4 separate regions of the Homo sapiens genome follow, and regions 2, 3 and 4 are each linked to region 1. Evidence: promoter capture Hi-C in 16 types of primary human blood cells and fetal thymus (Javierre and others, 2016). All regions are on one chromosome and are shown on one strand. The core of a region is centred on a gene start or on the middle of the fragment in contact, and the rest is flanking DNA. Distances in the headings are between cores, read along the strand shown. Region 1 holds the start of RASAL2-AS1 (RASAL2 antisense RNA 1). Region 2 overlaps RASAL2 (RAS protein activator like 2). Region 3 overlaps RASAL2 (RAS protein activator like 2). Region 4 overlaps RASAL2 (RAS protein activator like 2).

What was found. The method cuts DNA at HindIII sites, captures the fragments that hold promoters and counts their contacts. A CHiCAGO score of 5 or more calls a contact.
Region 2: a fragment that was not itself captured here is called in contact with the fragment with the promoter of RASAL2-AS1 in region 1 in 4 of 17 cell types (M0 macrophages, M2 macrophages, M1 macrophages and 1 more); the score reaches 5.8 in M0 macrophages.
Region 3: a contact is called between a fragment that was not itself captured here and the fragment with the promoter of RASAL2-AS1 in region 1, in 4 of 17 cell types (M2 macrophages, M0 macrophages, M1 macrophages and 1 more). The highest score is 10.8, in M2 macrophages.
Region 4: a fragment that was not itself captured here is called in contact with the fragment with the promoter of RASAL2-AS1 in region 1 in 4 of 17 cell types (M2 macrophages, M0 macrophages, M1 macrophages and 1 more); the score reaches 8.5 in M2 macrophages.

The regions. Positions count from the first base shown.
Region 1 is chr1:178,091,001-178,098,717 of GRCh38, forward strand. It overlaps RASAL2-AS1 (RASAL2 antisense RNA 1), which reads right to left and starts at 2,993. Exons shown (of 2, transcript NR_027982.1): 1 at 2,561-2,993; 2 at 508-2,412. RASAL2 (RAS protein activator like 2) reads left to right here and starts at 3,104. Exons shown (of 18, transcript NM_170692.4): 1 at 3,104-3,694. The coding sequence starts at 3,493. RefSeq lists an enhancer at 2,580-3,081 and silencers at 2,703-2,752, 2,803-3,102, 3,173-3,332, 3,483-3,542. The HindIII fragment of the contact is 4,675 bases long and covers 1,495-6,169 here.
Region 2 is chr1:178,318,869-178,326,585 of GRCh38, forward strand. All of the region lies in intron 3 of RASAL2 (RAS protein activator like 2), which reads left to right. It overlaps LOC105371629 (a long non-coding RNA gene), which reads right to left. Exons shown (of 3, transcript XR_922306.3): 3 at 5,220-5,541. Among named protein-coding and RNA genes, the nearest start is that of CLEC20A, 170 kb to the right of the region's middle. RefSeq lists an enhancer at 1,665-2,260. The HindIII fragment of the contact is 2,916 bases long and covers 3,336-6,251 here.
Region 3 is chr1:178,299,696-178,307,412 of GRCh38, forward strand. RASAL2 (RAS protein activator like 2) reads left to right here. Exons shown (of 18, transcript NM_170692.4): 3 at 297-423. Among named protein-coding and RNA genes, the nearest start is that of CLEC20A, 190 kb to the right of the region's middle. The HindIII fragment of the contact is 8,677 bases long and covers 120-7,717 here.
Region 4 is chr1:178,233,644-178,241,360 of GRCh38, forward strand. The region is part of intron 1 of RASAL2 (RAS protein activator like 2); the gene reads left to right. Among named protein-coding and RNA genes, the nearest start is that of RASAL2, 140 kb to the left of the region's middle. The HindIII fragment of the contact is 4,673 bases long and covers 1,041-5,713 here.

The DNA.
Region 1 (7,717 bases), core at 1,743-4,242:
CAGCAAAAGAAACTATCATCAGAGTGAACAGGCAACCTACAGAATGGGAGAAAGTTTTGCAATCTACCCATCCGACAAAGGTCTAATGTCCAGAATCTACAAGGAACTTAGACAAATTTACAAGAAAAAAACAAACAACCCCATCAAAAAGTGGGCAAAGGATATGAACAGACACTTCTCAAAAGAAGACATTTATGCAGCCAATAAACATATGAAAAAAAGTTCATCATCATTGGTCATTAGAGAAATGCAAATCAAAACCACAGTGAGATACCACCTCACGCCAGTGAGAATGGTGATTATTAAAAAGTCAGGAAACAACAGATTCTGCCAAGGCTATGGAGAAATAGGAATGCTTTTACACTGTTGGTGGGAGTGTAAATTAGTTCAACCATTGTGGAAGACACTGTGGCGATTCCTCAAGGATCTAGAACCAAAATACCATTTGACCCAGCAATCCCATTACTGGGTATATACCCAAAGGATTATAAATCATTCTACTATAAAGACACATGCACATGTATGTTTATTGCAGTGCTATTTACAATAGCAAAGACTTGGAACCAACCCAAATGCCATCGATGATAGACTGGATAAAGACAATGTGGCACATATACACCATGGAATACTATGCAGCCATAAAAAAGAATGAGTTCATGTCATTTGCAGGGACATGGATGAAGCTGGGAGCCATCATTCTAAGCAAAGTAACACAACAGAAAACCAAACTCTGCATATTCTCACTTATAAGTGGGAGTTGAACGATGAGAACACATGGACACAGGGAGGGTAATATCACATACTGGGGCCTGTCGGGGCGTGGGGGAAAGGGGAGGGAGAGCATTAGGACAAATATCTAATGAATGCAGGGCTTAAAACCTAGATGACGGGTTGATAGATGCAGTAAACCACCATGTTTACTGTAACCACCATGTTACATAGGTATACATAGGCACATGTATACCTATGTAACAAACCTGCATGTTCTGCACATGTATCCCAGAACTTAAAGTTAAAAAAAAAATAGTAGGATTACTAAAAAAGCAGGATTACTGGCGGTTGGCAGAGGCCTTTTCTTGAGCTCAGGAATGGATGATGCCACTGAAAGAGCAGATGTGGAAATAAATTCTGGAAATGTTTCGCATACCACTTGTAATGCTGTTTTTAAGATAATTGCTTGGGTAAATAAATTCCTTATACATTGACTAGTAAAGAGATACTCAACTTTGTACATTTGATGCCATATTCACTTGCTGTCTAACTTATGTTACCATGGCATTAATTTAGTATAAATAAAAATGCTCTAGGTCTACTCAGTGCTGAGCCTTGAAATCTCAGCACTCAACATCTCTTATCCACTAAAGCACACACTGTTGTTTACACGTGGAAGACTGACTATGCAGCCAGTCTAGTAAGCAAGCAAGCAAGCAAGCAAGCAGGGTCCTAGATATTAAAAATGACCATTCCTGTAAACCATCAAGCCACAAATCAACAAGCTTAATCACAAAAGTTTCTTGAGGGAACAAAGTTGAAGTAATATCCATTGAGTCATTGTGGAACTATCTGTACTTGTGGTTGATTAGCCAGGTAAGCTGGTTTTTCCTCAGTTTCCTCACCTGTTAAACAAGAGGCAGAATGATGTTCTCTCTAAAACACTTCTTGCTTTGAAATACTATTACTCTAAATAAGACTTTGGAGAAACTCACAAAATACATCCTTGTTAACTCTCAATAAGCCCAAACAATATTCCAGGACCCCACAAAACCAGAAAACTAACAGGACCCCTTGTAGACCAGTCTCTTTGTGCAACGTAGGGAGAAAGGGCGGGGGGGACTAAAGAACCTCCCAAAAGGTATTAAAAATAGCAACATGTAATTATGAAAAATCTTGTTCCACATTAGGTAGCCACATTCAAGAAAAACTGTTGGAGATCTACTATGTCCAAGGCACGGTTTAAGTTATTACTGTTCAATTTTGAAATTATTATTGTTAACTTGTCAGTAATTTCTTAAACCTAAACTGGTGAAACTCTCCTTGGGTGGACATAAAAGTAAAGCCATGGCCAAGGAGGGAGACAGTCTACAAATAAACCAAAAATAAAATACAAGTGACATCATTAAAGGAAAAAAGCCAACACACTGCACAAAGATCAAAGACAAAACAGAGAAACATGTTTGGTTAATACTGGGCTTTGAGTATTTCATGTGCCTGAGAGGCCCGTCCGTCCATCCACACCACACTTCTTCACCATGCTGTTGCAAACCAATGACAAGTTCAGCTTCAGCGCGGACAGGGCGCAGGGCGCAGACCCTGTGCATATCCCAGAATCCCGGACCCACTGCCACTCCACTCTGGGAAGGAAGAAGGCGCTCCCCCTTGGGTGACTGTAAGATAAAGCAGCTTCTTCGATCTCTTTGTCCAATAAGAAAGAAACGTTGGCCCATAAAGAAAGAAAGAAACAAATAAATAGGAAAGGTGTGAGAAGGAAGGGAAGCTCCTTTCTTTTCTGTTTAAATTTCCCGCACCCTTTTACCTCCCCGCCTTCTCAAACGGTCTTTACTTTGAGCAGCAGAGACCCGGACCGCTCAATACCCGGCTATCCCTGGGAGGGTACTTGGAAAGTAGGCGGGACAGGCCGGATGAATAATTCGGTGTCCGACTTTTCCTGCCTGCGGCGCAGTCCCTCCCCGGCTTCGTTACTCGAGTGCACACGCGGCCGGGCTCTCGGCCCTCGATTGCTTCAGCCTATCACCCTGGGATGCCGCCTGCCGCTGCCGCCGCCGCCGCCGCCGCCACCGCCACCGCCACCGCCACCGCCACCGCCGTGGCTGCCGGGTTTGTGGGATCCGCCGCGGAGCAGGAGCCAGAGCTGTGGCCGGAGCTGTGGCCTGAGAGTCAGGGGGCGGGCAGGCTCATTCCAGAAGTGGGGGCCGAGGACAGGCGGGCTAGAACCCGGGGCCACCGCCCCCTACCCCTCCTCAGGCTGAGGGAACGGGCACTCGGAGCTTCTGAGGCGGCGGCGGCGGGAGCCGGTCAGAGGGGGCGGCCCCTGGCGGCGACGCCCCCAAGCCCAGCCCTGCCCGGCCCCGCTCCATCCCCAGCCAGAGCCTGGTCTGACCGCGAGAGACGCCGGCGGGGCTGAAGAAGGCGGCTCCGAGGAGGTGGGAGGGCGAGCCTCCCCTCCCGGGTTCTTCTGCGTCCTCTCCCGGGAGGGACCCACACACACCTGAGCCCGGACCCACCCTTGGTCGGGGCCACGCTGGATCCTCCTCCCGGCCTGGGTCCCGCCCGCCGACTGCAGGTGGGCTGCATCGCCCGAGCCTCGGGCAGTGGGCGACGGGGAAGGAGGTGAGAGGTGTCCGCGCCGGCTGCCGCTCGGGTCCCTGCCCTCGCTGCGCGCTCTCCTCCTCCCCTTACCGCAGGCAGGGCGCGGAGCCGCGCGCCAGCCCGCCCCGAAGCCGCCGCCTCGTCCCCCTCCCGCCTCGGGGCACCATGGAGCTCTCTCCGTCGTCCGGAGGAGCCGCGGAGGCGCTGTCCTGGCCGGAGATGTTCCCGGCGCTGGAGTCCGACTCGCCGCTGCCCCCGGAGGACCTGGACGCGGTTGTCCCAGTCAGTGGAGCCGTCGCCGGTGGCATGTTGGATCGGATCCTTCTGGAGTCCGTGTGCCAGCAACAGAGCTGGGTCCGGGTGTACGGTAAGGACCACAGGCCGTCTTAGAGGCTGGTGTTTCCTATTTTTGCTTGGGCTGAAATTCATTCCCTAAGTCACAGGCTCATTCCCAGTCCTCATCCGTGCTAGGTCAGTTTCCCACATCCCTTTTTGTTCTGGGGGTGCATTTCTGACAAGTTTCTTCAGACTATCACTTGGGCAGGGATGTCACTCAGTATGGTCTTTGGACCTCTTCAGACACCTGCAGTAAGTTTAATGCGGGAGTTGGGCTATCCAAGACGTAATTCTTAGGCGATTACTTCAAGGGAACAGCCAGGCAATCAATCTTCAAGAAGGTATGATGGAAAAACTCCATGAAACCAAGTGAATGGATTTTCGTCTCTTTTTATTGTTGAATGAGGCAAGACTGGAAACCAAGATATTATGAAAAAGCAGAGGATAAGCTAATGAATGAAAAAAATGCAAACTATGTATTTGGTGGGAGCAAGACTAATCTATAACCTCTGCCTGAACCTCACTCTCTCTAAAAGCAACCACTTATTCCAACGGGTGTGGATTGTTTCAGATTACACTATTGTTTCTGAATCTCGTTGTAAAGTGACTGGGTTGCCACTCAGCAGGTTAAAAGTGATGAACACACTAAAACTTTCCCTTTCTGCATTCCTGGTAACCACCTCTTTAATTAAAACTGAATGATGAGATTCTATTAGGGTGAGCCTTGTGGCAGCACTAAAACCATGCTGGTTTTGAAAACTCATAGCTTAAGGATTTATAGCCTGGCATTCAGGACTGAGCTGTGGCTTTCCAAAATATTGAAACGGCAAGATGTTTATCGCCTAGCTCACGTGACTGCAGAAGACATTAGTAACGTGGCTGAGTATAAGATGGCAAATTTGAAGCACCTGGGATCAAACACAATGTTAAGATGTTATCCTGCAGTCTTGTGCATCTAAGCCTGTAGTGATCAAGTACCTTATGTTTTTTTCTTTCATCTTTCTGAACAGGGTATATGCTTACTATTCAAGAGTGACCAAGACTTAGGTTTTTTTCTGTGTAGTTCAGTTGATTTGAAGACTTAATGTCCATCGCAAAGATCATAGAACTAGGAGTCCAGAGATCTCAGTTCTTGTCTCAGTTCTACCACTAAATGGCTATGGGATTTGGGGCAGATCGAGTCACATTTTTGGCTTGTGATTCCTCATCTGTAAAGTGAGTGGATTGGATTAAATCATCACTAGTGACCCTTTTAATCATAAAAATCCAGGAATTCTTCTTATAACCAGTTCTTAAGGATTTGTGTACCACTTTGTATTTTGCTGGCTGTTTCTTGATGTTACTCTACGTACCGGAAGATTTAAAGCAAAGGAGTGGGAGACGATGCAAGGTCACCCAGTTTGTTCTCAGCAAATTAGATTAAAAACTTTGGTGCCTGATTTTCCGTCTGCCTGCTAAATCCCACTTAGCTGGTCATTTAGAACAAAGGTTGGTGAGAATCTGAAAGTGCATATGAATTAGAGTATATTGTAGTTACAACGTTTTCCCATTCTATCATCTTTCTCTCCTTACACACTTCTTTGGCATACTGTTTATTTGTGTGATGTTAGAAATAGGGCCATGCTATTCTAAGAATACATGTATATGATAATTCGGTATTTCAGTATCCAAAACAATCTGGGTTCTCTGGACCTAGTGTTAACTATCGTTCTTCATTTGTAAGGACATAAAAGTCTACAAATGTATGTTGTTTTGTAGTCCATTCCTAGGGGTTGATTTGTGAAATATATATTGTATATTTTGTGTGTGTGTGTGTGTGTGTGTAAGAGAGAGAGAGAGTGAGAGCAAGTTTACATTATGTTTTTTTTCTTTCGTCCTTCTGAACAGGATATATGTTTATTGTTCAAGAGTGACCACGACTTAGAAGTTTTCTTTCTGCGTGGTTCAATTGATGTCAAGACTTCATATCAGACATCACAGAAATGCATGGTATGTATATGTGTGTGACACACACATATACATACCATGCCTTGCATTTTTGTGACCAATTGCAGACTTACCACTGCATTGTAACTTTTTTTGTTTTCTCTATCAATTAACCAGAAGTTGTTTTTATTTATTGTTTAGTATTGCTACTTTCCTTCCTCTGAGGCAGCTCATCCTGGATACTATTTTGTTGTCTTTAGTTTATGTAAATATTTCAGAACTATTGGAATGACTCTTGGCTATGTCCTTAGCTAGTTTTAAGTTGCCTATTGTATGAACAGGGTGTATGTTTGAAAACTTTGAAGTAAAAACTTTGAAATAAAAGTAATAGAATGTAGAAAAACAATTTGGAGAATACAGAATTTTTGTTTTTCTTGTTTCTTGTCTGTGTGTTCAAAACCTTCGTTGTCTTGGATCACCTAGGTTCTTCTCACAATTTAAAGAGACTTTGATGAGTGTAGTCTAACATGTTTCAGGGAAATCTACAAATTGGGAACCTAGTCTAGAGGATACAACTAGAAGCTTAGAGTATTGGTTTCATTCTGGCTTTGCCACAAGTTGGTTGTCTAATTCTGGGCAGGTAGTTTTAACTCATGGCCTCTAGGTTTCAGCATAAAAGTGGAATCTGGAGTAATTGGTATCTGTGGTCCCTTTTAGCTTTAAAGTTGTCTGATTCTGTGGCTTGGCCCATTATTTTACCTGCAGGTTGGCCTATAATCTTTATCCTGGCTCTTGGGGCCAGGCATTAACCAAGCCCTTAACTTAATGCATTTAAATCATGATTGTCAGGGAATTCTGGGGAGCAGTTTTATCAAAAGGTCAGTGAACTGAGTTTTCAAAGAAGATATATTGAAGGCAGATGTTTATTTATTTGGAATGTTTTCACAAGATAGGAAGATGAGTATGGCGATGTTGCTTAGGTCTAGTTCATCCAGTTTTGAGACCTAACCTACATAGCCATGTGGGTTCTAAAGGTAGGATAATAATAAGGAACTTTATTAAGTGCAATTTGCATCTCCTGCAATATACTTCTGTTTGAAATCATGATGGGAACAAACAACAACAGAAGTAACCCCCCAAAGAATATCTTAACAGGAACTTCTAGAAACAATATTTTATTAGTTTGCCTCACAAAATTTGAAGACTAGGCACTGTTTTGAGTTTCTTGTTGACAGGTTTGGCTCCTTGGTTGATAATACATATATATTGTGTACATATGTATATATTGTCATAATACGTATACTCAGGGTTTTGTGTATTGCCATGATTTGGAAAACTTTTCTGGAATATGTTCAGAGCTTTATAATAGGTGGCTCTATATTTAGAACACAAACTAATGCACATTTTTGAGATGTGGCTGAGAGAAAAATATTTGTGCTGTCTGTCCTAATCTTCATTTCCTTGTAGTTGTAAAATGTTTCATTTGTTTTATTCCAGTATTATAAGTTGTGCCCATGCCTTGTCAAGACTATAAAATTTTTGATATCAGGGAGCCTTGTTTATCTTTGTATTCTTATCTTGCCACCCCCTTCATTGTCAACTTGTCTGCCAGATTGGTACCTTGCTCATAGTAAGTCAGTGTCTGTTGTATGTTGATCCGTTTGTCCTTTGACCATCCAGATCTCAACCTGACTGACTGTATGGGTGGTAGAGTAGCTTAAACAAAGGCATGCCACAAACAGCTAAATATGGATACAGAATCCAAGAGCATCAAATGCAGAACATTTTTCAGATATTTATAGCCTCAAAGCAAAGTCAATTGGCTGAAAAAGCTCAGCAGCATAGCGAAAGGAAACGGGAGTGGCAAAGCCAGCCTCACTGTCTGTGCTTTCTGGTAAACAATGAGAACATTAAAATTAAATACTTTACCATGAATGGATGGGGAGTGTAGGACACTCTGGGAGAAATTTAAGATCCCAATCTCTAGGATTGCCTGCGGTGGAGCTCTGCACTCATCAGTATGACAGGTCTGCAAGTATGTGCTCAGATATGCTCTTGGAGAGTTAGAAGGGAAATATAATCAGCACAAGAAAGGGATCAACAAGAAATCTTGTACTTTTAAATTTTA
Region 2 (7,717 bases), core at 3,544-6,043, 230 kb after region 1:
ATGCAGTTTCTGCCTAGTCTCGATGGTCTTTACATTTTGGCATGATTTTGCAGCGGCTGGTACCGGTTGTTCCTTTCCATGTTTAGCACTTCCTTCAGGAGCTCTTTTAGGGCAGACCTGGTGGTGACAAAATCAGTCAGCATTTGCTTGTCTGTAAAGTATTTTGTTTCTCCTTCACTTATGAAGCTTAGTTTGGCTGGATATGAAATTCTGGGTTGAAAATTCTTTTCTTTAAGAATGTTGAATATTGGCCCCCACACTCTTCTGGCTTGTAGGATTTCTGCCGAGAGATCCGCTGTTAGTCTGATGGGCTTCCCTTTGAGGGTAACCCAACCTTTTTCTCTGGCTGCCCTTAACATTTTTTCCTTCATTTCAACTTTGGTGAATCTGACAATTATGTGTCTTGGAGTTGCTCTTCTCGAGGAGTATCTTTATGGCGTTCTCTGTATTTCCTGAATCTGAACGTTGGCCTGCCTTGCTAGATTGGGGAAGTTCTCCTGGATAATATCCTGCAGTGTGTTTTCCAACTTGGTTCCATTCTCCCCATCACTTTCAGGTACACCAATCAGACGTAGATTTGGTCTTTTCACATAGTCCCATATTTCTTGGAGGCTTTGCTCATTTCTTTTTATTCTTTTTTCTCTAAACTTCCCTTCTCTCTTCATTTCATTCATTTCATCTTCCATTGCTGATACCCTTTCTTCCAGTTGATCGTATCGGCTCCTGAGGCTTCTGCATTCTTCACGTAGTTCTCGAGCCTTGGTTTTCAGCTCCATCAGCTCCTTTAATCACTTCTCTGTATTAGTTATTCTAGTTATACATTCTTCTAAATTTTTTTCAAAGTTTTCAACTTCTTTGCCTTTGGATTGAATGTCCTCCCGTAGCTCAGAGTAATTTGATCGTCTGAAGCCTTCTTCTCTCAGCTCGTCAAAGTCATTCTCCATCCAGCTTTGTTCTGTTGCTGATGAGGAACTGCGTTCCTTTGGAGGAGGAGAGACGCTCTGCGTTTTAGAGTTTCCAGTTTTTCTGTTCCGTTTTTTCTCCATCTTTGTGGTTTTATCTACTTTTGGTCTTTGATGATGGTGATGTACAGATGGGTTTTCGGTGTGGATGTCCTTTCTGTTTGTTAGTTTTCCTTCTAACAGACAGGACCCTCAGCTGCAGGTCTGTTGGAATACCCTGCCATGTGAGGTGTCAGTGTGCCCCTGCTGGGGGGTGCCTCCCAGTTAGGCTGCTCGGGGGTCAGGGGTCAGGGACCCACTTGAGGAGGCAGTCTGCCGGTTCTCAGATCTCCAGCTGCGTGCTGGGAGAACCACTGCTCTCTTCAAAGCTGTCAGACAGGGACATTTAAGTCTGCAGAGGTTACTGCTGTCTTTTTGTTTGTCTGTGCCCTGCCCCCAGAGGTGGAGCCTACAGGGGCAGGCAGGCCTCCTTGAGCTGTGGTGGGCTCCACCCAGTTCGAGCTTCCCGGCTGCTTTGTTTGCCTAAGCAAGCCTGGGCAATGGTGGGCACCCTCCCCCAGCCTCGCTGCCGCCTTGCAGTTTGATCTCAGACTGCTGTGCTAGCAATCAGCGAGACTCCGTGGGCGTAGGACCCTCCGAGCCAGGTGTGGGATATAGTCTCGTGGTGCGCCGTTTTTTAAGCCGGTCTGAAAAGCGCAATATTTGGGTGGGAGTGACCTGATTTTCCAGGTGCGTCCGTCACCCCTTTCTTTGACTGGGAGAGGGAACTCCCTGACCCCTTGCGCTTCCCAGGTGAGGCAATGCCTCGCCCTGCTTTGGCTCGCACACGGTGCGCGCACCCACTGACCTGCGCCCACTGTCTGGCACTCCCTAGTGAGATGAACCCGGTACCTCAGATGGAAATGCAGAAATCACCCGTCTTCTGCCTCGCTCACGCTGGGAGCTGTAGACCGGAGCTGTTCCTATTCGGCCATCTTGGCTCCTCCCCTCACTTTATTATTATGACTATTTAATTCGTAAAATTTACTCAATTTAGAAACTAAGTTAAAACCAAAATGGCACACTTGAGTTATTCCCAGTTAAGCTCTCATTCACTGAGTCAGTTAACATCCTCTTCGGTAACAAGCACATTCTAAGTTTTCAGTATATCAGCTGGTTTTTAGCAGATTGTGAAAGTTTTGACACGTTAGTGGCTATCTCCATTCTTCACCAACCTTTTCTAAAAAGTACTTTATCTGTGCACAATAATTTTTTATTTATTTATTTTTTTGAGGCGGAGTCTCATCTCTGTCACCCAGGCTGGAGTGCAGTGGCTTGATCTTGGCTCACTGCAACCTCCACCTCCCGGGTTCCATCGATTCTCCTGTCCCAGCCTCCCAAGTAGCTGAGATTACAGGAATTTGCCACCATGCATGGCTAATTTTTGTATTTTTAGTAGAGACAGGGTTTCACCCCATGTTGGCCAGGCTAGTCTCGAACTCCTGACCTAAGGTGATCCACCCACCTCGGCCTCCCAAAGTGCTGCAATTACAGGCGTGAGCCACCGCGCCCCGCCTCAATAATTTTTTAATAATTTTTTCAATACCCTGAAATCTGGCTTTATTTGCCACTGAAATTACCCCCAACTATCAGAGATTTGATAATAAGTTTCATAACTTCATTATTTTTTTCTTTTTTGTTTTTCTATTTTTTTTAGCTGGTGTCTCGCTTTGTGGCTAGGCTAGAGTGCAGTGGCGCATGGCATGATCATAGCTCACTGCAGCCTTGACCTCCTAGGCTCAAGTGATCCTCCCCTGCCTCAGCCTCCCTAGTAGCTGGGACTACAGGCATGTGCCACCAGAACCAGATAATTTTTTTATTTAAAAAAATTTTTGTAGGTCGGGTGCAGTGGCTCACATCTGTAATCCCAGCACTTTGGGAGGCCAAGGCGGGTGGATCACCTGAGGTCAGGAGTTTGAGACCAGCCTGACCAACATGGTGAAACCCCGTCTCTACTAAAAATACAAAATTAGCTGGGTGAGGTGGTGCATGTCTGTAATCCCAACTACTCGGGAGGCTGAGGCAGGAGAATTGCTTGAACCCAGAAGGTGGAGGTTTTGGTGAGCCGAGATCGCGCCATTGCACTCCAGCCTGGGCAACAAGAGCGAAACTCCATCTCAAAAAAAAAAAAAAATTTTTTTTTGGTAGAGATGGGGTCTCACCGTGTTGCCCAGGCTGGTCTCAAACTCCTCACCTCAAGTGATACTCCCACCTCGGCCTCCCAAAGTGCTGGGAATACAGGTACAAGCCACTGCATCTGGCCAAGTTTCATAACTTTAGTCCTCATCACCTTCTAACTCTCTTCGTGGTTTTTAATGATCGACTTCCCTTTAAAGCTTCTCTTTCTTGACTTCTGTGACATTTTTTCCTCTATTGCTTATGTCCTGCCTCACCGTACTTTTTAAAATATTTCCCACTTTTTAAATGCAGATGTCTAAAGGTCTTATCCTTACCCTTTTTCTTTTGCTTTGTCCTTTCTCAGTAGTTGACTTCACCTATATTCATGTTTCCAAATGTCATCCCTGGGCCAGTACCTTTTAAATCTCTATTTTTGGCTTCCTCGTCTCTTCTCAGTTCCAGACCTGAATTCCCAACTGGTCGTCTGTACTAGAATGTTCAAAACTGAAGCCATTATCTTTGATTAGTTTCCCTTCTTTGTTCCTTCCCTCCCCAACAACCTGTTCTCATGTGGTGGTTGGTTCTGTTAATATGACCACCATCCTTCTAGTCATTCTAACTTTACATTACTCTTTTATTTCTACCTAAATATCTGAATAGCTACTCATATATCTTTTCCTGTTTCCATTTTTATCCTTCTGTATTAACTCATTTCACTGCTCTTTTGTCATCTTAGAGCACTAATTGAATCATACTACTTTCCTTGTTTAAACACTTTTACTGTATCTCCACTGATCTATAAGATGAGGTTCAAATTTACAGTGACACTAAACGTCCTATATATTCTGACTGAGAGTTAGCTCTTTAAGATCATCTTTTTTCTTTTTACCCACCACAGGTATGTATTCTGGGTTCTGGCCACATAGGACTGCTTCAGATTCCCTAGGCATTCTCAATACACATGGGCTTTTGTTCACATAGGGCATAAACCTGGAATATCTTGCTCTGTTTTTCCACCTTCATTTCTACCTTCTGTATGTAGAAATCCCATTTATCCTAAGGGACCAATAAGATATTAACTCTTGGCAATCTTTTTCTTCATTCACTAATCAGAATTCATTAGCATTTTTGTTTGTGATAAACAGTACTTTTTGTACTTCTGATATTTGGATGTATGTTCTTATGTTTTCAGTAAGTTGTTGGTATGTGTCATCTTTACTAGATTGGAACCTCTTAGATGGCAAGATTGTATCTTACTCACCTTGGTATCACCATAGCAGGTTGTTTTGTACATAACTGCAGGCTGAGTGAGTGACTGATTGTTGAGCAAATGACTGATATGAGACATACTAGAGAAACTCTTTCTTGACTTTCAGGTGGAGCATGTCAAAGTGAAAAATAATCTTAGATGTGGGTAATTTTTTTTTATCCTGAAGGGAAAACCATACCCACTTGAGAGAAAATCGTTTAGTAATGAAATTAGAGAATTACTAAATATCATTGCACAGCCACAGGACTATAAGCAGTATAATCACAACTATTGGTTTTGATAAATACAAAGTTGGTAAATGCCATTGTCCAAGTTAACAAGTCACAGTATCAAGTGTACTTGGTTGTGAATGTCAGGTCTGAACTCCGTGCTGTTGGTTAATATCATAACCATAGTTGTGTTAGTGAGCAAGATATTTGTGTTTATTTTTAAGATTTTATTAATAGTAAATCACTTTTATTAATTTCTTATATTTATAGAGAATGATAAGAGAAAATGAAGTATCTTAATGAAAGGAAATGACCATTTTATCCTTTTTGCTGCATTTCACAAAATGAATATTAGGTTATTTATAACAAAAACATGTATTAGGTTGTTAAGAGATTAATTAGTATATAAAAACCACACAAGAAGATTTAGCAGTTATTTCACAGATAGAGGGTTTACTTTTTCAGGAAAGAAAATGCATACCCGTAACTAGAACACATTCTGTCTGGAAGGATACCTTTACCAGTGACTGTGCTGGGTAGTGGAAAATGGCACCAGCTTTGAAGTTGTCTTAACCTGGATTCAAATTCCATATGCTCTCATCATTAACTCTGAACCTCAGCTTCCTTGTTGGATGAGATTTTTATTATGATTCAAAAGAAGAATGCAGGAGCAATAACATAAACTTTGATTTGAGCCAAACTTCAGTTCGCTCTGACTCATAAAATCATGGAACCAGTGAGATAATAGACTAGGTGTTATGTTTCTCATCTTGCTTGGACAGGTTTAAGCTATTAAAGAAATTTGAAGCTGGTCATAGTAGCTCACTTCTGTAATCCCAACTACTTGGGAGGCTAAGGTGGGAGGATTGCTTTGGTCCAGGATTTTGAGGCTGCAGATCACACCACTGCACTCCAGCCTGGGTGACAGAGCAAGACTCGATCTCTAGGAAAAAAAAAAAAAGAAAAGAAATTTGAGGTGTGACATCTTAAAGCATTCTATCTCTGTATCTTGTGACTTTGCCCATTTGTTTTTTTCCATTTTCACTTGCACTTCCTTTCTTCTAAAGTATAGTCATAATTCACCAGTCTGTTATGTAATGAAGGTAGAAAGATGGGAGTGGGCTTGTTTACAATGCATCTTGAAATATATTTGGAGACTTGACCTAGGCCCTTGACTGCCCAGAACCTTTTCTGAAAGGAAAAATAAGTAATTCAGATAAATTGAGCAAAATTAGCTAAATATCGTTTAATTGTACATGTGCATATGGCTCTCTTTTTAGGTAGCCCAAGATTGGCTATGCTGTTTACCAAAGCCTTTTAAGTTTACATTTCAAGCAGAAGGATTTATAAATCAGATTGGTGGAAAATCTAGTTTAATTTTATGTGCGAAACAGACTCTAACTGCCTCAAGGAATGAAGTTTTTGGCTTGTTATGACCCCCTTGGCACCCACCTGCCAACTGGTCTCTCTAGTAACAATGCTTAACCAAGAAAGCTCCCTAGTTTCTCATAAAGCTGTTGTGTTCATTGGATTGTTCTGGTTACTTTTATTTCTGTAAAATTTAAAGCCTATTTTCTTTTCCTGTTGTCTTCAGATATTTGCATGTTAACATGTTTCCTCATTTTGATTGATATTTAATATAGCACAACAGGAAGCTTCCATTCATTTCATTTTTTAAAAAAATTCTCCTTACAACATTCCTATTTTGTCTGTGTTTGACGTGTTCTTTCTAACTCTGAAGAGTAGAGAATAACATAGGAAAAATTCAAGGTAGAAAATAGTGTCTAGAACATGAATTCACAGGATGAGAAGGAAGTAAAAGCGAGTGAATTAGAAAGAGAACTAGTAATAGAGGAAAGATAATTATCAGTTCATTTTTTCCTCTTAAAGGCCTTTAGGTTTTTTCCCTCCCACTTTAATCAGAGTAGTGCCACCGAAGAGTCAAAAACTTATTTAAACAAATCTTTTGTAATTAATTTTTAAAGGTAGGAATTGTAGAGAAGTATTCATTCAGATATATGTATTAGGAACTAGATGAGCTAGGGATAGAGCTAATGAGATAATACATTGGGTGTGACTTAAAATAAGAAGAGAAAAAAATACATTTAAAAGCAGAATATCATTAGCAGTGCATATAACAGTTGGATAGAAATAGCCTTGGAGTAGCCACTAAAAGCTAGAAAGTTTCATAGTGGTAGATAGGCTCCCTGAAAGAAACTGTATGCAGAATATGAGAAAAGAGAAAATTTGGCCTCTTCTAATAAGGCTTGGCATCACTGATACAGTATAGAGTTACAGTAAAAGATGAGCTTTTATAACTAAATGTGTTACTGCAGTTGATAAGTTAAAATTAGCTGGGTACCATGGCTCATGACTGTAATCCTAGCACTTTAACAGAAAGATTGCTTGAGGTCAGGTGTTTGAGACCAGCCTGGGCAACATAATGAGACCCCATCTTTACAAAAAATAAAAAAACTAGCCAGGCATGTTGGTGTGTGCCTGTAGTCCCAGCTACTTGGGAGGCAGAGGTGGGAGGATCACTTGAGCCCAGGAGTTTGATTCTACATATAGCTATGACTATATAGTCTACACTAGCTACGATTATGCTACTGCACTCCAGCCTGGGTGACAGAGCGAGCAAGACCCTGCCTCTAAAAATAAAGAAATGAATTAATAAATAAATAAGAATTTTTTTTAACTTTCCCAAGAAAAATTAATTTTGCAGAATCTCATGTACCCATGTAAAAGGCTGGATTATATGTTTTCCACATTAGAAAGAATGAATCATATATCAAAGGTATATGGTATCAGTTCCCATCAGGGAATAAGAGAATAGGTTCAAAATTTCATTAGCAGAAATCTACCTCCCTCATAATTATCCCTCATAAGTGAGAATAATAAGTGGATTTTCAAAAGAAATGTTTTTAGACTCTAAGAAGTCACCTTTTAGTATGTATGTGTCTTTCAAAATTTATTGTATACTATTTACATTTTATTTATAATAATGCTCTGCTATTTCAGAATTGATTATTGTACTAAAAGTTTATGTCTCAGAAAATATCTAATTAATTTTTTATTTTATTTTATTTATTTTTGAGATGGAGTTTCACTCTTGTTGC
Region 3 (7,717 bases), core at 3,208-5,707, 210 kb after region 1:
CATGTTGGCCAGGATGATCTGGATCTCTTGACCTCGTTATCCACCCACCTCAGCCTCCCAAAGTGCTGGGATTACAGGCGTGAGTCACTGCACCTGGCCCAGTTTTCTTTTTAAAGGAAAGCTTACTGTGAAGGGGTTGGTAATACCTTACCATTGTATATACTTTATTTCTATATTTCTCCTGCCTTACTCTTTGTTACACACTCCTGTCTTCTTTGACTAAAACCATTATTCAATCAGAACGTAGTTATGGTGAGTTCACTATTAAGTTTTATCTTTTGCTTTTGATTAACTAGATACCTGTGGAAGGGGGACAGGAGCAGCAGACAGATTCCACCAAAGGGCGATGCCTGAGGAGAACTGTCAGTGTCCCTTCCGAGGGTCAGTTTCCCGAGTACCCACCAGAGGGCGCCACTAAACTGGGTAAGCTACTATGAAAAGGAAATAAATTCCTAGCTTTTATCCCATAATTTATGGACTTGTTACTGAGTAAAACAGAACATCCTGCATTTCCTGTTAAGTAAGTGCTTTGAAATCAATGGCACGTTAAGCGAGAGTTAGAGGTCATTAGAGAGTTCTGTTCTTTATAACCAACTGACAGCAAAGTTATTTTAAAGAGAAAGACTTTATGTGAGCACTAGTAAGGTTGCTGTTTAGTCCTAGGCAGATGGGATAATGTGTTGCTTCTGGGTTTATTGCTCAGCTGTAGATTTTGAGAGAGTATTTGGTGATCTTGTTGAAGCACTGAGGTTCATAAGGGAGCAGTATGTGTTGGAACTTAGTATTAAGTGGTTTAGATGTGTCTTGTTCAGGTAGCTACTGGTGTTGTCTTATATGATGTAATATTAGATCAGGCTAATTTAGCTAAGTTAATCTTGCATGTCTCATAAAAGTCATATGCTGGACTATGGTTGGAGTGGGTGACAAAAGGGAGAAATCCTACTTCCATTTTTCCAGTAAGGTTACTAAAGAAACCTTACTTCCATTGTTATATACTAAAGGAGTTAATGTCAATATCAAAGCAGCTAGCTCTTCTCCCATTCCCTACCAAATGTATTCTGTTAAATGTTTTCATTTTTAATAATGGATATTTAAATAATCAGACTGGTCAGGTAATTTTAAAAGAACATAATTAAGATTAAATAGAAAAATGAAGCAATTTGAAAAGTAGGAATTGTTTTGGTGCTTTATATTGTTGTGTTATTATTTGCTTAGTGAACCATAGACTTTTGACATTTGATAAGTAGATGAAATCATTTATTGTCTCTATGGTGATCAGTATGGATAATTCTGTAATTTTGTTTGTGTTTTCTAAAATCATGGTTTGGTTTGGGATTTTGGAGGGGGTTGCCTTTTTCTTCATTTCTAAGTGGAACCCAGAGCTTTTGGCTGGAATTTGAATCCTTTTGGGCAGAATTTGAATCTTTTATTTTTCTTTTTATTGTGTAATAGTTGTTGCTTTCCTAGAAATTAGTTGAGTTAGCAAGTACTTTTTTCCAAGGAGCCACCTTGGAGAAGTCAGATTTTTCTCTCATCTTATTTCCACTATACTTCTTTAACATGTGTTGAAACCAGTTTAGGTGTGGGCCTAAATTCTACTAAAAACCTGTCTGGGTGTAACCATTTTATAGCCTATTTATATTTCACATCCAAGTTCTATGTAAATTGAACTGGCTTAGAGTCACCTTCTTTCAGTTCCTTTGCTTTCATTATTTGCAATGATATGTTGACTGTTGTCTCTCTTTTTTTTTTTCTGAGACAGAGACTTGCTGTGTTGCCCAGGCTGGAGTGCAATGGCGTGATCTTGGCTCACTGCAGCCTCCACCTACTTGGTTCAAGCAATTCTCCTGCCTCAGCCTCCCAAGTAGCTGGGATTACAGGCATGCACCACCATGCCCGGCTAATTTTTGTATTTTTAATAGAGACAGGGTTTCACCATGTTGGCCAGGCTGGTCTCAAACTCCCGACCACTGATGATCTGCCCTCCTCAGCCTCCCAAAGTGCTAGGAATAAAGCATGAACCACTGCGCCCAGCCTGACTATTGTCTTTACCAATTTTCTAGGAACCTTTCGCTCTTCAAGTTTTGACCCATAAAAGTCAATAGATTTTGAGGAAGTACAACTATAGTCTCAAGAATTATTGCAGTGTTATAGAAGAGAGAACTATATAGGAAATTGTTAAATATCTACAGTGTTCGAGGTACTGGCCCCAAAAACAAACTAAAGGTGACAAAAGTGTCTGGTCTAGAGCCAGTCCTTATCTTTTGTGCTTAACAAGAAGTCCAGTAGCCATTCTGACTCATGGACAGTCCATGAGCAAATGTCCTAAATTTGCACTAAAAGCTATCCTCGTAAATATTATAGGGAAAAACACTACTTCTAGAGCCATTCTTCCTTACATGCCAGTCTAATCTTGAATTAGATAATTGTTCTGTTTTTTTATTGTTATCTCCAAGTGATTTGTCTTTAGCCAAAATTTCTGCTGTCAGGTATTTCATTGAATAATTGCTGTATATGTAACATTCTATGCCAGTCGCTAAGAGTGAAAAGAAGTATAAGATTTCTGCTCTTAGAACATTTTTTTTATGTAGTTAGCAAGATAGGATGAATATACATAGAAACTAAAATATAAGTTAGTGTACAAAAATTGATTGTCTATATACTAGCAATAAACAGGAAACAAAAAAAATTAAATATCCTGTTTAATATAGCATCATGATAACAAATTCCTAGGGGAAAAGATCTAATAACAGATGTGAAAGACTTCTACATAGAGAACTTTAAAACATAAAAGAAAAAAAGATTTAAATAAACAAATGGAGGGCTAAATACCATGATGATGGTTTAGAAGACTTAATACAATGTCAGTTCTCTTTAAGATCAAAATTTCAATGAATTTCAAAATTTCTGTCCCCATCCTTACCACCACATACACGTATACAAATTGGCAAGTTGATTCTAAAATTCATCTCGAAATGCCATAGACCAAGTATAGCCACAGCAGAAGAAAACAAGGTGAGAAGACTTAATTACTAGTATTAAGATCTGTTTAAAAAGTATAATAGGCCGGGCGCAGTGGTTCACGCCTATAATCCCAGCACTTTGGGAGGCCAAGGTGGGAAGATCACGAGGTCAGGAGTTCAAGACCAGCCTGGTCAATATGGTGAAACCCTGTCTCGAGTGTGGTGGCATGTGCCTGTAGTCCCAGTTACTCAGGAGGCTGAGGCAGGAGAATCGCTTGAACCCAGGAGGTGGAGGTTGCAGTGAGCCAAGATTGAGCCACTGCACTCCAGCCTGGGAGACAGAGCGACACTCCATCTCAAAAAAAAACAAAGTATAATAGTGTGTTGGTGGAAGAATAAACAAATAGAATAGTGAAATAGAATAGAGAGTCTTGAAGTTATCCCATATATAAGGACATTTGGTGTGACATTTCCCTCACGGCAGTGAGAGAAAAGACAGTCTTTTTAGTCATTGGTGCTGGCTCAATAACATATCTTTTTGGAGTGGGGTGGGAATGAGGAGGAATTGACCTATAAGATAGTGACCTTATAACCATGCACAATATCAATTCCAAGATCTGAACAAGAGAGATAATACAATAAAACTTCTAGAAATAGTGTAGGATATTTTCATGATCTTGGATAAAGAAAGATTTCTTAAGTCAGGAGTGTCCAATCTTTTCGCTTTCCTGGGCCACATCAGAAGAAGAATTGTCTTGGACCACACCCAAAATGCACTAACACTAACGACAGCTGATGAGCTTAAAAAAAAAAAAGGTTCATGCAAAAATCTCATAATGTTTTAAGAAAGTTTAAGAATTTGTGTTGGGCTGCATTCAGAACCATCCTGGGCTGCATGCAGCCCATGGACCGTGGGTTGGACAAGTTTGTCTTAAACAATACAAAAAACACAAATTGTAATGGAAATAATTGATACATTGGACTATATTAAGATTAAGAATTCTGTCAATCAGTACATCATTAAGAGAATGAAAAGGCAAACCACAGAGTAGAATAATATATTTGCAACACCTATAATGAACAAAGGGCTTTTATCTAGTATATATAAATGCTTCCTCGTAGAAAATGAGCAAGAGGCTTGAACAGATATTTTAACGAAGAGTTCACTGAGGAACAGACACAAATTAGTACATCCTGTCTGATTCCGTTTATATCAAGTTCCAAAACCGTTAAAACTAATCTATGGTGTTAGTTATTAGGATGGTGGTTACTTTTGGGGAGGAGGCATGAATAGTGATTGGGAGAAATATAAAGGTGGATTCTGGAGTGCCAGTGGTGTTCTGTTTGTTGACTTGGGTAGGAATTACACAGGTGTGTTCACTTTGTGATAATTCATTGAGCATATGTGTGTTATACTTAAAGAAAATTTTAAAAAGACAAAGAAAAACAAGCTAAATTGTACTGTCACATAAGTGGTCTATACTATTACAAAGTACACAGTAGGGAGGATTAAGAACTATATAGCCAACTCTGTTTTATGCTACCAAAAGGGCCACTAGGATGAGGACTAACGAAAATCATTAGGCCAGGTGTGATGGCTCACACCTATAATCCCAGCACTTTGGGAGGCTGAAGCTGGAGGGTCACTTATGTCTAGGAGTATGAGACCAGCCTAGACAACATAGTGAGACCCTTATCTCTACAAAATAAAAAAATTAGCCAGGCATGGTGGCACACATCTGTAGTCTCAGCTACTCTGAAGGCTAAAGTGGGAGGATCTCTTGAGCCTGGGAGGTTGAGGCTACCGTGAGCTGAGATCACACCACTGCACTCTAGCTTAGGCGACAGAGTGAGACCTTGTCTCAAAAACAAAACAAAACAAAAACCACACATTAGATTAAGTGACATTAGGGTTCTTGGTAAGTTTAGGAACTGTAGTTTTAATGGTATGTGGCAGCAGAAGCCCTACTGAAATGAGTTGAGAAGATAGTGTGATAAGGAAATCAAAACAGCAAATGGAGACAATTCTTCTTAAACGTTTGCCTGTGGAAAAACTGAAAGCGTTTCCTCTTAGATCTGGAACACAACAAGGTTGTGCACTTTTACCACTCTTATTTGTTATAGTACTGGAAGTCCTAGCTAGAGCAGTCAGACAAGAGAAGGAAATAAAGGGCATCCAAATTAGAAAGGAAGAAGCCAACTTATTCTTGTTTGCAGATGATACGATCTTATATTTGGAGAAACCTAAAGACTCCACTAAAAAACTGTTAGGACTGATAAACAAATTCAGTAAAGTTACAGGATACCAAATCAGCATACAAAAATCAGTGGCATTTCTGTATGTTAACAGTGAACAATCTGAAAAAAAGAAATTTAAAAAGTAATCCCATTTACAAGAGCCACAAGTAAAATGAAGTACCTAGGAATTAACCAAAGAAGTGAGTATCGCTACAATGAAAACTATAAAATACTGATGAAAGAAATTGAAGAGGATGGCAACAAATGGAAAGATATTTCATGTTCATGGGTTGGAAGAATCAATATTGTTATAATGTCCATACTGCACAAAGCAGTCGACAAATCCAGTGCAATTCCTATCAAAATACCAATGACATTCTTCACAGAAATAGAAAAAACAATACTAAAATTTATATGGAATCACAAAAGACCCTGAATAGCCAAAGTCATTCTGAGCAAAAGGAACAAAACTAGAGGAATCACATTACCTGAGTTCAAATTACAGTACAGAGGTATAGTAACCAAAATAGCACGGCACAGGCAGAAAAACAGACACACAGACCAGTGGAACAGAGAATCCAGAAACAAATCCACACACCTACAGTGAACTCAGAATTTGCTTAATGGATTGGATGTGGAAAGTGAGAAATAGAATATTCAAGAATGTTGGCTAGAACAGCTACAGGAATGAAGTTACTATTGTTTAAAGTGGGAAGACTGGGAGAAACTAGTTTGAAAGTGTGATTGACCAGCAGCTCAATTTTTGCACACGTTAAGTTTGAGGGTATTATTAGACCCCCAAGTCGAAATTTGTTGGATATATGAATTTGGAAATAAAGGGGAAGGTACAGACTACAGATACAAATTGCAAGCCTTTGGCAAATAGATGATATTTAAAACCCTGAGATTTAATGACATTCCTATTAGAATGTATGACAGAAGAAATGCAAAGACTAAGCCCTGGGACAACATTTAGAGGTTAGGAAGATGAAGTAGCACTAGCAAAGGAAGAACTAAAGAGGAAAGATGAAAATCCAGAATTTTGTTTCCAAATAAGCAAATTGAGACAAATGTGTATGGGGAAGAAGAAGGGAGTGCTTAAGCACAGAATTTACTTCTTATTGACAAGAGTTCTCCGACTGTTGCATTCAGCAGTTTACAGTTACCAAGGATACTAAATTTGACATAGATTTTGATTCATCAAATTTTTTTCATTGTTCAATTCCCACCTTTGAGTGAGAATATGCGGTGTTTGGTTTTTTGTTCTTGCGATAGTTTACTGAGAATGATGATTTCCAATTTCATCCATGTCCCTACAAAGGACATGAACTTATCATTTTTTATGGCTGCATAGTATTCCATGGTGTATATGTGCCACATTTTCTTAATCCAGTCTATCATTGTTGGACATTTGGGTTGGTTCCAAGTCTTTGCTATTGTGAATAGTGCCGCAATAAACATATGTATGCATGTGTCTTTATAGCAGCATGATTTATAGTCCTTTGGGTATATACCCAGTAATGGGATGGCTGGGTCAAATGGTAATTCTAGTTCTAGATCCCTGAGGAATAGCCACACTGACTTCCACAATGGTTGAACTAGTTTACAGTCCCACCAATAGTGTAAAAGTGTTCCTATTTCTCCACATCCTCTCCAGCACCTGTTGTTTCCTGACTTTTTAATGATTGCCATTCTAACTGGTGTGAGATGGTATCTCATTGTGGTTTTGATTTGCATTTCTCTGATGGCCAGTGATGATGAGCATTTTTTCATGTGTTTTTTGGCTGCGTAAGTGTCTTCTTTTGAGAAGTGTCTGTTCATGTCCTTCACCCACTTTTTGATGGGGTTGTTTGTTTTCTTCTTGTAAATTTGTTTGAGTTCATTGTAGATTCTGGATATTAGCCCTTTGTCAGATGAACAAATCACATGGACACAGGAAGGGGAACATCACACTCTGGGGACTGTTGTGGGGTGGGGGGAGGGGGGAGGGATAGCATTGGGAGATATACCTAATGCTAGATGATAAGTTAGTGGGTGCAGTGCAGCAGCATGGCACATGTATACATATGTAACTAACCTGCACAATGTGCACATGTACCCTAAAACTTAAAGTATAATAATAAAAGAAAAAAAAAAAGCACGAAAAAGATGTTCTAAATAAATTGCGAAGAAGACAAGTTATATAACAGCATGTGCAGTCTAATCATTATTTCATTTTTTAAAAAAAGGTACAGTATGCACACAGAATAAAGATTGCTTATACACATCAACGTATTATGAGCATTATCTTTATTTTGCTTGTATGTTCTAGATTTTCTTAAGCAATGTGCATTTCTTTCATACTAAAAATATTTTTAAATAAAATATACTAATTACTTTTAAAAAAAAAATTTTTTTCCACTGAAAATGAGATGTTTTCTTAAGGCATGTGTGCATCATGTCTAAAGTACCCACTTCCAGATTTAGAAAACCTAGGAAAAAACTATTTTCCCCTAGTAACAGTATCCAGATTTTAA
Region 4 (7,717 bases), core at 2,127-4,626, 140 kb after region 1:
CAGAGAAGCCACACCTGGTCAACAGCCGATCACTTCGAGCACCATTCACCAGATCTGTTTCAGAACCAGAACCCCGCTGCAGTATCCCATTTGTTAGACTGTGGCCAACTTCACTTGGGTCAGTGGAGTCTGAGCAGCAGGGATATTTCATCCGTGGCATTTTCTCTACTCTTTCCAATGGCTTCTCCAGGATGCTGAATCTAAAAGGAGAATCAACCAATGAGCCAGTAAGAGAAGGTATATTGCAATGAATAAGGGGAAAAAAGGGATGGCTCAGATTTAGTTACTGTTGAAATTTTAATTATTTGTTTTATAATCAGGTGAAACATTTCATTTTCTCATTATAAAACAAATATATTTAATTAGCACAATTTTAAAAAAGTGATCATCACTGCTTCAGAAACCTTTTAATGACTTATAGTAATAGCAAGAAGTGAATGGATTTGGTTAATTAAGGAATATTTTTATGTTGTTAATTCTTGAACTCAATTTTGGAGCACATGTGAAAAAATTATTTTTAATGCTCATTTGTCTCCACTGATCTACTTTTCCAGGTTAAGTGCAATTTGGAGGGGAAAATATTCAAGTAATTTGTCATGACTGTTGAGAATTTAAAATGTATTTCTACTGTTATCTCTTCATAAACATTATTTTTAAATTAATGTTATTAGTGAGAAATGTAGAGCAGAATTACACTGATAGCTCTTAAAAAGTTGGGATTTTAATTTGCTTGTATCATAAAATACTCCATTTGAATATGGAAGCCAAGCATGCAAATCTTGAATATTTGTTTAGATGACAAAATAGAAATTTGTGTTTGATTCATTTAAGACAATAGAATTGTCAAATTTTTAAAAATCTTATTTGGGACTTTTTAAAATTTAAAAATTATTTCATATTGATTATAGCATTGTTAAAGCCAAAAAGCCCACAGTGCTTAATTTTTTTAACTGATTGCCTTAAAAATGGTTGACCTTATCTGGTGAACAATTTTGGTTATGACTTGGGGCCTATGTTTTTTAAAAAACCTTAGCACTGGAAGCTTGGTAGTATCTTCATGACCAGCTGAGATCATTTTTTGAGAAGCTCTTACCATTAAGAAAATTTCAGCCTCTCATTATTAGGAGATTGAACGTATCATCAAAGGTTTAAACCCTTTCTAAAACTGTGAGAATTGTTGAAGAATTTTGTTATTGAAATATAATTTAATTTATTTTAAAATAAAGTTGAAGAATGCTAATGAGATCATTTCAGTGAAAACTGAAGTAATTTTCCAAATTAATGTATGCCAAAAATTAAGTATTTTCTATAAACCCTGTCCTCCCTAGATGTTCCTTTGCTCAGTGAATTTTAGTGATACTCTTAAACATATATATTTTCTCCTTACTCTTGGCAAATAGATAATTACCTAGAGGAAAATCTTCCTCCTTGATGTGCCTCTATTAACATTCCATTAAAATTTTTGAAAGACTTGGTTGTTTCAGTTTCTTGGATACTTGTATGTCTGTTTCCTTGCCAGGTGATCATAAGGTGATCAAAGTAAAAGAATGTCAAAGGAAATTAAGAGTTTAAAATCTTACAATCAGTTCCTCTCAATGGTTAGCATGTGTGCATTTGATAAAAGAAGCAATACTTTAAATTTTTGCATTTATAATCATTTTTGGACTTTGATAGTGCACTTTCAGTTTTTAGCAAGTATACCAAGCTATTTTTGACTGTCTACAATGTGTGAGGTGCTGTGAGAAGGTGTCCCTGCATTTTACACATATATGGTCTACTTAAGGAAATATAAAATGTAATAATATGTATATGGAAGCACATACAGAGTTTAAGTTTAAGGTGCTATTTCAAGGAATTTCGATTCCAGTAACGAAAAAACAGTGCATAGTGTCCTACCAGTAACATAACAACATTTATAAAACAGTTACTCCGCTATCTCCTAAGTGCTTCGTGTGCGTGTGTGTGTGTGTGTGTCTGTGTGTGTGTATGGGTATGTATGTGCAAGTGAGGGGGGATTAAGCTCTTAAGACTGAAATGTACTGTTTATTATAAAGACCGGATCAAGTGCCTGTGCAGAGGTCTCCTTTTCTCTTTTGGCAGTAACTTCTTTCTGGCCTAGTGTCTACATCAGTGGTTTTCTAACCTTTTGCAGTTGTGAGCCTTTCTTCATCCCTTATTTCCCACAAGCAAAAGACTACCAAATAACTGACTAGTTTGATTTTCTTATCTAAGAGAAAGTAATTAAAGTTGAATTCACTGAGTTAGCAAATTAAGTGAATTTATAGGCGAGAGCTAGTATCCTAATGAATAAAGTTTCTGAGGCAATTTATTTATTTAAAATCCAAATTATTTGGAAATAATTTTCCAAAAAAGATTATCTAGTTGTTATCCTACTTTCTCCTGCCTACCAGTATTTTTTTAATGCTCATTTTCCAGATACTGGAATTGGAAAGCTATTGATTACCAAACCTTCAGATAACCAGAAGATAGTCTCTTTTGTTCAGATATTAGGTGCAAAGGATCTGACCCAGTGTGGTCATGGTAGCTAATTGTTACATCAGCTATAAAGTTGTTGGTTTTTTAGATTATGCCTAATAATCTTGAGGGCTAAGCTACCCCAACCTATAATAGAATTTATCTCTTCATAAGTATATACTATGATGGTCCTCGTAGAGGTATGATACTGTAATAACCATGTACCTGTCTCTCAGCTTTAGAATTTGCAGTTACACTTGGTTTCCAAAAATCAGAGATTCTGGATTTTAAGAGCTTAGACTAGCCACTAAAAACCTGTAGAATGTCTAATAATCACCCCAAATTTTTACTAGTCAACCAAGTGTTATTTTTTATCCATGTGGCAACTGGGTCATTTCTTTGCTTCTCAAGCCTATAAAGATTAGTAATTCCTTGGTTTTCAGTTGCTCATTGTTTTCCAAGGAAGTCTTAAAAAACAAAGGAAAACAAAAAACAGAAAGGGTTTGCTTTAAGCATTATGATTGGTAGTTTATTTCACTGTTTAAAACTTTAGGGTATAACTTGCACAAAACACTAGGCTTCTCTAGCTTTTACTTATGAGCAAAACTTAATCTGTGATATTTTATATTGGACACTACTTTTTTTTTTTTTTTTTTTTTTTTTGAAACAGAGTCTTGCTCTGTCACCCAGGCTGGAGGCCAGTGGTGCGATCTCGGCTCACTGCAACCTCCGCCTCCCGGGTTCAAGTGGTTCTCCTGCCTCAGCCTCCTGAGTAGCTGGGATTACGGGTGCACAGCACCAAGCCCAGCTAATTTTTGTATTTTTAGTAGAGATGGGGTTTCGCCATGTTGGTCAGGCTGGTCTCGAACTTCTGATCTCAGGTGATCCACCCGCCTCAGCCTCCGAAAATGCTGGAATTACAGGTGTGAGCCAGCGCGCCCAGCCTCCCTGAGTACTTTAAATGCATTTTATCTGGTTTAATCCTCCGAATAATCCTGCGAGGGAGTGTTATTCTCATTTTAAAAGTAAGGAATTAGAGCCTCAGAAAGTTTCAGTTACTTCTCCAAGACTACACAGCTAGTAAGTTGTGGGTCCTAGGTCTCTTATGATTCTGTGCTCCTCCATTTGGGGGCCCACTTTGAACACATGATGTTTGAGAGTTTTTCAGGAACTTGAGAGCATCGCTTCAAGCAGTATTGCGGAATAAAGGGGCAGGAGTTTAGCAGCAGAGGTTAGTTCCCATATGAGGATATACATTTGGAAGCCATCAGCCCATGGACATTGAAGCCACAGGAGTGGGTGAAATCACACAGGCTAGGGATATAGTGGGAGAGTAATGAGAATGTTGAGACTAGCATCCCAGCCTCAACACATCTGGACATCTTATTCCAGTCTAACCAGTGTCTGTTAACAGAGCCAGTGGTTTACGAGTATAGACTTGGAGTTTACCAATGTGGTGGTAACTTTAATATTCTTACTTTTACATATACTTGCATACACACCTTATTTATTTTTGTTTAACAGCTTTTTTGAGATATAACTTACATAACGTATTTCATCTACTTAATACACACAATTCAATTACTTTTTTATTGTGATAGCATGCACATACCAAAAAATTTACCACTTTAACCATTTTTAGGTGTACAGTTCAGTGGCATAAGTAGCTTCACATTGTTGTTCAACCATCACCATCATCCATCTCCAGACTATTTTATCTTCACATACTGAAACTCTGTACCCATTAAACACTAACTCCCCATTCTTGCCTCACCCTAGGCCCTGGTAACCACCATTCTACTTTCTGTCTCTATGAATTCGATTCCCAAGTACCTCATATAAGTGGAATCATAATATTCTTTTGTACAGTTTATTTTTAGTATTTTTACAAAGCTGTACAAGCACACCACAATTTTAGAACATTTTCATTACACCAAATACCTATTAGCAGGCAATTCCTGTTTACCCTTAAAGGTCCCATCCATCAGACCTAGGCAATCAGTAATATACTGTCTCTATAGATTTGCTTATAGATGCTATATAAATGGAATTTTACAATATGTGACATTTTGTGTCTAGCTTCTTTTACTTAGCATAATGGTTTCATGGCTCCTCCATGTTATAGCAGCAGTACTTTCTTTTTATCACTGACTTTCTATTGTATGGATATACTATATTTCATTTATACATTCATCATTTGGTGGACATTTGGGTTGTTTCCACATTTGTGCTATTATTAATTATGCTACTATGAACATTCATGAACAAATTTTTACGTGAACATATGTTTTCATTTCGCCTGGGCATTTACCCTTGTATTTTGCAAACAGTGTATTCTGCCTCCAGAATAATGATTTGGTGTTTTGTGACCTTAAGTCACATTAAATTTTCCATTTGTTATCTGAACATGTAATGGTGCTGCTACTTTATTATTGTTTTATATCCGTGTATTCATTCAGTAAAATATTTCTGTGTGTATGTGTGTATATACACACACACACACACACTTTGATCACCTCAAGTACCTATTAGCAATCACTATATATATATGTAAATAAAATTTTAGTCTTAGTCAAATACCTTCTGTAGTTAGTAATTTCCCACACCTCTGCTCAAAATATAAATATAGTTCAATGTGATCTAGAGTTTTCAACTGGTAGCTTGATTACAATGAACAGTATGATTTGTCTGCATTTCCAGGATGATTGTCATCCTGGAATGATTTATCTGCCTCAGGCAAGTTTTTATTTGGTTTCTCACACTCAAGGCCAGTTTGTCTTTGTGAGGAAGCAAAGAGAAGAGTAAGATGAGTAATGACTCTGGATCTATGATTATGAAACCGTATCCTTATGAGTACACAGGTTCTTAGTGACTGAGCTTGAGTCAGTTAACCACAGGTATTTTTCCTGTCATTCTCATGTGGAATTTTCATTGAAATGTCTTAAAAAAATTTTGCCTCTAATTTCTGGATTTAAGGATGATTACTTATTCACCTTTACAAAGTAGAAACCCTATTCTATCTATGTTTTTAGATTTTGTCACCAAAATGTCAAAATAGTTTGAATCTTAAGGGATATTGATTCATATAATTTAGCATAGTATATAACCATAACCTTGGTCAAACTAAAGAGTATTTTGAAAGCTATGTGTGTGGTTTGTTGTTCTGAAGTAAAGTGGTATCTGGTGGTTAGAACATAAGAGTTACTGTCAGCATTTGTGGGTTTTCTTCCCAGATCCAAGCTTTTTTAAAAGGAAAGTCAGAGTCCATGCCTGTTGTATGTTTAGTGCAATGGTTTACATACTGTAGATATATTGTAAATACTAGTGAAGATGTTATACAACTGGCAGAATAATATGCAATAAATCACTCACAATATGTGTAAAATAATGATAGTTGTCACTGGTACTTAGTGATTCTATTATTTAATAAATCTTTCTTTGAGAAAGGCATGATTACTGTTTCCAAGTAGTAGTGTGGTATTTTAAGCAACTTATAATAAACATTTTTAGTTCAAAGTGGTTAGACATTACTCTCTATCCAAGGGACTTTTGAGGACACTACCTCATGGACACCATCCATATATCACAGTAGTACATGCCAGAATCTAAGAGTAAGGAATACGTTTAAGATTGTGTGATGATTCTAATATGTGGACACGTTAGGCACTGATACTCTAGTATTTAAGTTTTATTTACCTCTATCCTCTTGATGGCATCCTAAACCATGGTTCTTAAAGCTTGAGCTGGATGGAGGTGTTCTGCCCCTGAAATAAGGTAATAAAGGTATTTTCCTAGCTTATTAAAAACAGATGAATGGTATTTTTATTTAAAATTTTTATTTTATAAATTTTTTAACATTGTGGTGCCTTGCTATCCCTTAGCCTATAATAAAACATAAAATATTTGCCTTTACACAGATTTTTATACTTGATTATTTTGTCTTTAATATAAACTTTTGTAATTACTTTTTGCCCTGTGATGTAACATTAGGGCATTGCTTTTCAAGCACAGTGTTTTATGAACATATGTTGTCCACAGTGAACAAGGTCAGTTGCTAGTGGAAATTATGGAGTTGCTGGCTTACTAATCCTCTCTAGCCTATTATTTCAATTTATTGGACTGTTAGTGATACCGCAGATATTGTTATTAGTCCCTAGATGTAGACAGTATTTCTTTGAATAATGCTTTCCTGTTCATAGAATTCTAGATGTATCATTTTGTTTAGCCAAAAGGAACTTAATACTTTCCTGTAAACCCTATCACTTCAGATGTTAGTGTTTATTGTATTTCTTTACCAATAAAGAACATTCATTTAAACACAATAGGTCCATTTTCTTATTTTTATCCAGTTTTTTTTTCTTAGCCTTAGACTTTATTTTAAATACAAGAATATAAAGGGATGTTTTATCCAAAAGCAAATGGCATTGAAAAAAGACCACTTTAAATTATTTAAAGCAAGTGTCAAATTTTCATAGTAAATAATGTATACATGTGTTGCTGGAGAGGATATTGGGAATTTATCTTAAATGAAAATTTATGAAAATAAACTTTTTAGTCTTTTAAACAAAATTTACATTATAATTGTAACTATATACTAGTTATTAAAATAAAGTTATTAAGCTAATTATTAACAACTTTTTGTGGTATTTTTCCCTGAACAAAATTGTGTGACTGCAAATCAATATCCTTCACTTCACATTTTACTTTGGAGAATTATTTTATTATAATGTTTTTTAGGAAAATTATTGGAAGATTTTGTTAGTTTTTAAGGTTCCTTTTTATTTCTATTATAATTATTTTATTTATACATATTTTTATTTTTATTCATGACTTTTTTATTGATTAGAAACATAAGCCCTCTGGTGTATCCTACTGTCACATTGTTCTAATTGACCAGTGTGGTTTTTAAATAAGAGTGCAGAATATAAAGTATGAGGTGGAATTTTGAGGAAAATGATTTATAAATAAAATTTTAAAATAGGATGAATTTATGAATACACTTGAATATTTAGGTTTTGACATTTATGCTTCTTTCTGGTGTGCTATATAATTACAACTTAAATACCCTAAATGAGTATTATTGATGTGATTCATATACTTGAGATAAGTACACAGAATGTTGAGTCACTGTATGAAAGAATGAAAGAATGAAGAGCTGTTTATATACAGATATGGAAAGATCTCCAAGCTGTGTTAGGAAATAAGCTACAAAAGTACTATATGTTTCTTTTGGTTCTTTGTA